2 separate regions of the Homo sapiens genome follow, and region 1 is linked to region 2. The links are contacts of gene promoters, found by promoter capture Hi-C in human tissues and cell types (Jung and others, 2019). All regions are on one chromosome and are shown on one strand. Each heading gives the region's core, a stretch centred on a gene start or on the middle of the fragment in contact. The rest is flanking DNA. Distances are from core to core; before and after follow the strand shown.

Evidence for each region. The method cuts DNA at HindIII sites, captures the fragments that hold promoters and counts their contacts. A contact is called where the count stands out against the background at its distance.
Region 1: a fragment that was not itself captured here is called in contact with the fragment with the promoter of WNT7A in region 2 in 2 of the 25 tissues and cell types used here (H1 embryonic stem cells and pancreas).

The regions. Positions count from the first base shown.
Region 1 is chr3:13,839,593-13,844,054 of GRCh38, reverse strand. All of the region lies in intron 3 of WNT7A (Wnt family member 7A), which reads left to right. Among named protein-coding and RNA genes, the nearest start is that of WNT7A, 38 kb to the left of the region's middle. The HindIII fragment of the contact is 5,404 bases long and covers 1-4,462 here.
Region 2 is chr3:13,878,364-13,882,217 of GRCh38, reverse strand. WNT7A (Wnt family member 7A) reads left to right here and starts at 2,147. Exons shown (of 4, transcript NM_004625.4): 1 at 2,147-2,472. The coding sequence starts at 2,402. RefSeq lists enhancers at 2,169-2,670, 3,173-3,674. The HindIII fragment of the contact is 9,172 bases long and covers 1-3,854 here.

The sequences.
Region 1 (4,462 bases), core at 1,029-3,528, 38 kb after region 2:
TCCAACAAGGCCAGGCACGGTGGCTCCCGCCTATAATCCCAGCACTTTGGGAGGCCAAGGGTGGGTGGATCACCTGAGTTCAGGAGTTTGAGACCAGCCTGGCCAACATGGAGAAACCCATCTCTACTAAAAATATAAAAGTTAGCTGGACAAGGTGGCGGGCACCTGTAATCCCATCTACTTGGGAGGCTGAGGCAGAAGAATCAATTGAACCCAGGAGGCAGAGGTTGCAGTGAGCTGAGATTGCACCACTGCACTCCAGCCTGGGAGACAGAGTGAGACTCCATCTCAGGGGAAAAAAAAAAAAAGATTCCAACATGACATTGGTAAAACACTTTATGATTTGCATGACCTTTTTTTTTTTCAACATCTTTTCCTGGCCAAGTCTCACAGCTTTCCTCCAGGTGAGCAGTGTAATTGTGCCCGTTTTGCAGGTGAGGCAGCTGAGGCTCTGGTTGGGTACTGCTCAGTCCCCCGGAGGTGTTCTCTGCTGGGCTGAGAGTTTTGGATGGGAGGCAGGTCAGGAGCTCCTGGCCAGACCATGCGGGGAGGTGTGAATGACCTGGATGTGGAAAGAGCTCCGATCAGAGCCCCGACTGTGCCACTTGTTTGCTGTGTGCCCTTGGGCAGTCACCCTTCTCAAGCCTCAGTTTCCTCATTGAAAAAAAGGCAGTGAGGATTTGTACTTGTCAGAGCTGTTGTGCAGATTGCATGAGATAATGCCCCTGGAGTGCCTCGTCCTACGCTCTCAGGCATGATGAGTGCTTGGAAAGCAGTCATTGCTGTTATGAATATCATTGTTAGTATCAGTAGTAGTAGTGATTTTAAAGCCACAGTCAAGTTTTAATTCTTACATCTTATTCCTAAGGACTGTTCTAGCTCTAAAACTCTGTTTTGTCCATTCGCTGGCTGTAGAGTGTGCTAGCAGACTCAAGAGAAGGAGCGGTCCAGGTCGCCATTGAGATTTTTTGCTGCACTGAGCAGGGAGGGCCACAGGACACCAAGCCATGGCAAGGCCACGCTGGTCCTCCTTTATCCAAAATAGGTGATGTCCACCTAGGTCTTTCAGTCCTTGTGAGCAGCCACTTCCAGAGGGGGCCTCTGCCCTTGTCCTTTCAGCCCCATGCCACACATACCCAAGTACACACCACATTCCAGGACCTTTAAAGTTGTCCATAAAGTCCAGTCTCCAGCCCAGACCTGCCTCCCGAACACAAGTCCTGTGCATCCAGCTGCCATCCTGCCTCCCTGCTCCAGGATGTCTACTGGCCCATGAGCACTCGTCTACCACAACCTAACTCCTGATCTTTCTCCCACAAACTTGCTGGTGCCTTTGTCTCCATCCCCTGGTTCAGTAAATAGCATCTGCATCCTTCCAGTTGTGTAAGCCAAACCCTGGCCCTGGCCTTGGCCATGACACTTTTCTTTCTTTCACACCCCACATCCAACATGTCAGTTCTACCTACAACATCTGTCCAGAGTCTGTCACCAAATAACTTATACCCCCGAGCTCATGATCCAAGCCACCAGCCTCTCTTCCCTACAGTGACACAACAGTCCCCTGCCCCAGAGTCCTATTCACCAGCATCTCTTCCCTGACATTGCACAATTGTCCCCTTGCCCCAGGGTCCTATCCACCAGCATCTCTTCCTTGCAGTGGCACAACGGTCCCCTTACCCCAGGTTTCTACCCACCAGTATCTCTTCCCTGCAGTAGCAAAACAATTCCCTTACCCCAGAGTCCTATCCACCAGCATCTCTCCCCTGCAGTGGCACGACAGTCCCCTTACCCCAGGGTCTTATCCATCAGCGTCTCTTCCCTGTAGGAACACACCAGCCTACTAACTTGGGCCCCTGCAGGCTTTTCAAATGTCAGTTAAACTCTGCCTCCCTCACTTATAATCTCACCATGGCTCCCATCTCACCCAGAGTAGACACAGAAGCCTTCACGGTGGCTCACAGGCCCCTCCCTCACCCCTGTCTCCTTCCCCTTCGCTCTCTCTGTCCCCCTGCAGCGGTCTCCCTGTGGCTCCTCACACACACTGGGTATGTCCCTGCCCCAGGTCCCTTGCACTTACTGTTCCCTCTGCCTGGAATGCTCTCCCTGCAGACACTTACCCTCTCACCTCCTCAAGTCTTTTCTCAAATATCACCTCTCAAGGAGGCCTTTCCTGACCACCATATTTGAACTCACCCTCCAGTCTGTCTCGCTGCTTCCTGTTCCCTTCCACGTTTTGTTTTTCTGTGTAGCACTCATGGCCACCTGATATAATATTGGTACTTTGCCAAGTGATCCCAGTGTGGCTGGGAAAAGTTAGAGTGCCTGCTGTAGAAGGCCTCCTGTGGGAACGGCACAGGCCCAGACAGAAGCTTCCCTCCCACCTTTTCCCCTCTGTGCCTTCGATATTTGTTCCAGTGGGCCAGCAGCACATGAATATTTTATACCTGTACAGCTTTTGTCTTACTCCAGGCACTGTTCTAATTACTTCATACGCATGAATTCCTAAAATTCTCATAAGAACTCCATGAGATCAGCCTGGCATTGTCTCCCTTTTACAAATGAGGAAACTGAGGCACAGAGCGGTTCAGCGACTCGCCCAAAGTCATACAGTTGATAAGCAAAGAGCCAGGATATGAACTCAGGCAGTCCAGCTCCAGAGGCTGCATTCTTGCTCTACTTCCTCTCTTTTGTGTATTCATCCACTTATTCATTCATTAAGAATTTATAGAGTGTCTTCTTTGCCTTAGGTGCGACGTTTTAGAGACGAACAGATCACTAAAAACTGGTTCCTGCCATCAGGAAGCTTAGTCTAGTGGGAAACGCTGAACAAGTAAATAAGGGAAAAGGAAAATCATATTCATTCAGCAACCATTCACTGACGCCTGAGATTATTTCCCAGCCTTTAAAAAGTTAGAGGAGGCCAGCCCCTGGTGTATTCCCTGATTGTGTTCATTTCTAAGCCAGAGAGCCGAATCCCTATATGCCAGCTCTGTTTTAGGCACTGAGGTCTGAGATAAATAATATACCATTTTTGAATTTGAGGGGGATTACATTCTAATGACAGAAGGAGAAGAGTGAATTACTGCATGTAAATATGACAACATGAACTGGATTTGGTAGAGGAGTGTGTAGGGGACTATGGGACCCCAGGATAGGAGCTCTAACCATTTGGGGATTGGTTTGGATGAGTGCATGGCTGAGTGGTAGGATGAATGGATGGATATATAGATGGATGGATGGATGCATGCATGCATGCACAAATGGATAGATGGATGGATGGATATTTGCTAGATAGATAGTAATGGGAAGGCTGGTTGAATGAATGGAATATGAATGAATAGATGGATGGATGGTTAAACGGACAGATCTTAGAAGATGGTTGGATGGATGTTTGGGTAGTAGGATAGATGGATGGCTGAATGGGTGGATGGATGGATGGATGGATGGATGGATGGATGAATGAATAGCTATTTGGAAGGATGGTTGGGTGAATGGATGAGCAAAAAGCTGAGCTCACTGCTGGAAAGTTGGACATTTTCCCAGTGAGATCACCAGATCAGCTGAAAGAAAGGATGGAAATCCATGCATTCGTTCATTCATTCATTCAACAAATATTTATTAAGCACCTATTTATGCGTCTGGTACTGTTTTAGGCTCTGGGATTAGACATGGTACTTGCCTTTATGGAGCTGACATTCCGGGGGAAGGGAGACAACAAACAAATAATAGAATATATATATGGAATCTGTTGTCAGAGAGTTATAAATGCTATGATGAACAAACAAAGCAGGATGAGAGGGCACAGATGTCAGGAGCAGGGGCATTTTATTTTAGGCGATCAGGAGAGGCCTCCTGGAGAAGGTAAGTTCTGAACAGGAAGTGAGGAAATGAGCCATCTGGGGAATTGCATTTGAGTCAGAGGGAATTGCAAGGTCAGAGCCCAGAGGCAAAGAGGCCAGTGTGGCTGTCAGGGAGGAGAGGAGGTCACAGAGAGATGTGTTAGAGAGTGGGGAGTGCAGGGCCCTGCTTCCCTGTGAGAGAAGGGTTTGTCTGCATCTTGGAAGCCTGCGGAGGACATTGAACCCGGGCTGATCAGCGTTAGGAAGGGCACCACCCTCCCTGCACCCCTGCTTGCTGGTTCCCAGCCCTGCTCCCTCCTGGCTGCTTGGCAGTTGGGAGGCTGTCAGCATTTTAATTACAGATCCACGCTCTCAATGGTTTACAACTCAACTGTAAAACAGGCCCTGGGCAACATGTGGCACCTCTGAGTGATTTACTTGCTCACCATTTCTATATTTAGTGCCATTTAATGCTTGTTGGCCAAGTTTTCAGAGAGAAAAAGAAGGAGGAATTTGGTGGTAGAGTGGGGAAGGGGTCGGTTAAGTTTTGTTTGTTTGTTTTTAAAACACACAGATGTATTTTTCAGTTGTTTTCTGAGATTATTTCCCAGGCTTTAAAAAGT
Region 2 (3,854 bases), core at 898-3,397:
TGGTGGCTCAGGGCCCCAGCACTGGTGCGCCAGCCAACAAAACAAAGACTGCATTGTCTTTTATCGCGAAGACTTGTAATTTTTGAGCATCACTTCTGCTACATCTTATTGGTGGAAGCCATCACAAGCCCACCCAGATTCACGCAGGCAGAGCACAGAGAACCCACTTCTTCATGGGAGGAGTGTCAAATAATTTTGTGGTCATGTTCTAAGAGCACCACCCTAACCCAAACTACCAATGTCTCACCTGGACCCCTACTGTCATCTCCTCTCTGGTCTGCTTGATGGCGCACTTTACTCACCTGTCCCCATTCCCACAGTGTGTTCCCTTAGGACAGCCACGGGGAGCTTTTGAACACACAAATCAGATCAGTCACCCCCTTCTTCATCCCTCCAATGTCCCCAGCTGAACACACCACTGAAATCCAAGCTCCTTGACGTGCCCACACAGCTTTGTGGATCTGTGTATCCCCATCTCCCTTCAAGCTCAGGCCTTCTCTCTCTCTCTATTGCAGCCCACCATCTCCTCCCTGGGGCTCATGCCCACCTCTGAGCTTTTGCACCTGCTGGTCCCCTTCCTGCAGTGCTGGACCCCTGATGCTGTGTCCTTCAGGCCTCACCTCAAATGCCACCTCCTCAGATCTAAAATTAACCCTCCAACACCCAGTATTCCCTCTCCCATCACCCTGCTTAATGGTCTACTATCTGCAACTCTGTTCTTGTTCACTTATCATCTGTCTCCTTCCTGGCCCCAAGAAGAAAGACTGTTGCCTTTCTTCTTCCTTGTGTCCACGGTGCCCACTATCGTGGTTGGCACAGAATATGGAATATGAATGAATACCTGAATGGTGGCTTTCGGGTGTGTGTGTGTGTGTGTGTGTGTGTAATTTAGAAAGGCAATCTTGAAGGATAGTCAGGACTGGGTGCAGGAGGTTACTACAGTTGGGCATACTTTGTTTCCCATATGGTTGTGCCACTCGCTAGCTGGTGACTCTGGGCAAACACCTTCACCTCCTTGAGCCTCAGTGTCTTCAGCTGAAACCTGAGTTCAGATTTGCCAGACCTGGGCATAGGGACAGCAGGTCCAGCAGGAACACCAAGCCAGGACCACAGCCACTCCCAGGGAGCTCAGTCCCTGGAGCCCGAGAGGAACACTCTCCGGAGGCGCAGGCGCAGCCGCTCCTAGAGACTGGGCAACCCCCAGGTGGCAGGCGGGACCGGTCCGTGCAAACAGGGAACAGGTACCCGGAGGATGGACATTCGCTGGCAAAAACATAAACTGCCGCTCGGAGTCTTGGCACCACCCAATTTCCAGGGACGGTTAGACTCCCCCTAGCTCACTGGATGAGGTGTACACCAAAGAAGGGTGTTAGCCCCCTCGGGTCGGCCAGGGCACTCAAAGCATTCTGTTCCCGGGAGCGAGGCCGAGGTGCACCACCCGCCGCGTCCGCCTGGTGACGCCGCGAGCGCGCTCTGAGCGGCCAGCTGCGCCCCTCACGCTCCCGCGGCTCAGGCGCCCCACTGCTGTTCCGCGCGGGGCAACTGGGCCTCAGCCCGACTCAGTCTGTCGGCTAACAGCAGGATCCCAGAGGAGGCTGCCCAACCTGGGCACCCCCTGCCGCCACTCTCGAATAGGTGGGAGTAGGGAAGAAATACACTGAGCCAGTCAGCCCGTCGCTCCGCGAAAGGGGGCGCCCTCCCCTGAAGCTGGGGTTGGGGAACTGGGGTGTGCCCTGTCAGCCCCAGCTCCCTGTTCCGGGCTGGAGGGAGCAGGGCAGCAGACCAAGGCACTAGGCCTCTCGGCCGAGTCTGGTCCACTCCACCCGAGGGCAGCCTCTGGACGCCCACTCGCCCTGCAATCTGCAAGTTAGTGACGGGTGGGGGGCGAGCGGGCTCCTACCGCCTCCAACCGGGCTGTGCTCCCCAGCCTGCCACCTGCACCCCGGAGCAGGGAGGGGGCCCCCGGGAGCGCGCATGGAAAGGCGCGAGCGCGCGCCTTGTGCAGGCGGCCCTGTCCCGCGGGCGCAGGGGCGCTGGGCGGGCGCTCCGGGGAGGCGGGCGGGGGAGGGGGCGGGGGAGGGACGGGGGAAAGGAGGGAGGGGCGGGGGCTGGAGGCAGCAGCGCCCCCGCACTCCCCGCGTCTCGCACACTTGCACCGGTCGCTCGCGCGCAGCCCGGCGTCGCCCCACGCCGCGCTCGCTCCTCCCTCCCTCCTCCCGCTCCGTGGCTCCCGTGCTCCTGGCGAGGCTCAGGCGCGGAGCGCGCGGACGGGCGCACCGACAGACGGCCCCGGGGACGCCTCGGCTCGCGCCTCCCGGGCGGGCTATGTTGATTGCCCCGCCGGGGCCGGCCCGCGGGATCAGCACAGCCCGGCCCGCGGCCCCGGCGGCCAATCGGGACTATGAACCGGAAAGCGCGGCGCTGCCTGGGCCACCTCTTTCTCAGCCTGGGCATGGTCTACCTCCGGATCGGGTAAGGGCTGCCTGCGCCCTTTCCGCGCGTGTTTCGACAAAGTTGGCACGGCCCGGGGAGGGAGGTGTGCCGCCTGCGAGCCTCTGCCGGCCAACTTCCACAGCTTCTCTGAGAGGCCGGGTGGGTGCGGTGTGGGAGCGGTGGACGCACAAAGGCCCCCCGCAGGACACCCCAGGAGATATAGGCAGGGGGACTGGCCATCCTGAGGACGTCTGAGTCTGGAATCCCCCAGGACCAGAGACAGCCGGTAGGGACGCTCCAGCCTGAGGGACTCTGGGGGAGGGCTAGCTGCTGCAAAGGTTCAGCCCATCCCGGGGACCCTTCGGACCCGGGCATAGGGACAGCAGGTCTAGCAGGAACATCAAGCCAGGACCACAGCCAATCTCGGGGAGCTCAGTCCCCGGAGCCCGAGACGAACTCTCTCAGGAGGCGCGGCACAGCCGTTCCTAGAGACTGGGCAGTCCCCAGGTGGCTGGCGGGGCCGGTCCGTGCAAACAGGGAACAGGTACCCAGGAGGAAGGACATTCGCTGGCAAAAACATAAACCGCCGCTCGGAGCCTTGGCACCACCCAATTTCCAGGGGCCCTTAGACTCCCAGAGCCCCTTCCCGGGCCAAGGGGACAGCACGTCCCACCCCCAACAAACACACACAAAGGTGGGACGAGAGGCGGTCTGAGACACAGAGGGAGACAAGCGCTAGAGAGAGGCGGGACACCCCGCCCCCTGGAACTGGGCAGCAGAGGCGGCCGGGCGCGCGAGCAGCCCTCCGGCTTCACCTAGCGTTTCTGTGGAGGTGGGGCTCGGGGGCGCTCTGGCTGGAAGGTGGGAGGGGGCAGCTCGGGACGCGTCCTGGAGCTGCTTGTGCAAAGCCGGTCACCCTTTGTACTTAAGACAACGCGTGTGAGGCTCGGAGCGGTGTGGGGGCGGGGGGATCTGGGCATGGATAGAGGTTCTGGCGCTGAAGGGCCCGCTTGGTAGGTCTCACACACCCTGCCCCTCCAGCCCCCAGCAGTGAACCCATTACCATCCCTTTTGAGGAGGGGTGGACCGCAGGGGCTGCGGCGAGGGGATGTGCGTGGCAGACCCTTTGTGTTTTGTCACTACTACCCCCCTACCCCGTCACTTCCCCAGTCCACGTCTCTGGAGCGGGGATTTCGCAAGTTGTCCGGCCGCGGCCGCTAGCAGGTGCGTGCAGAGCCGACCAGGGGCCGCCAGCCCGACCAGCGGCGGAGAGGCGGCTGCGGGGCTCGCGCCAGTACCGCCAGCCTGCCGGTGTGTTTTAAGTGTTATTGATTCGCCCGCGTCTGGGTGGCTTTCCTTTTTTTCCCCTGCTTTAATCTTCATCTTGGCCCGCGCCCCGCCGCCCCGCGCACATTCAGCAT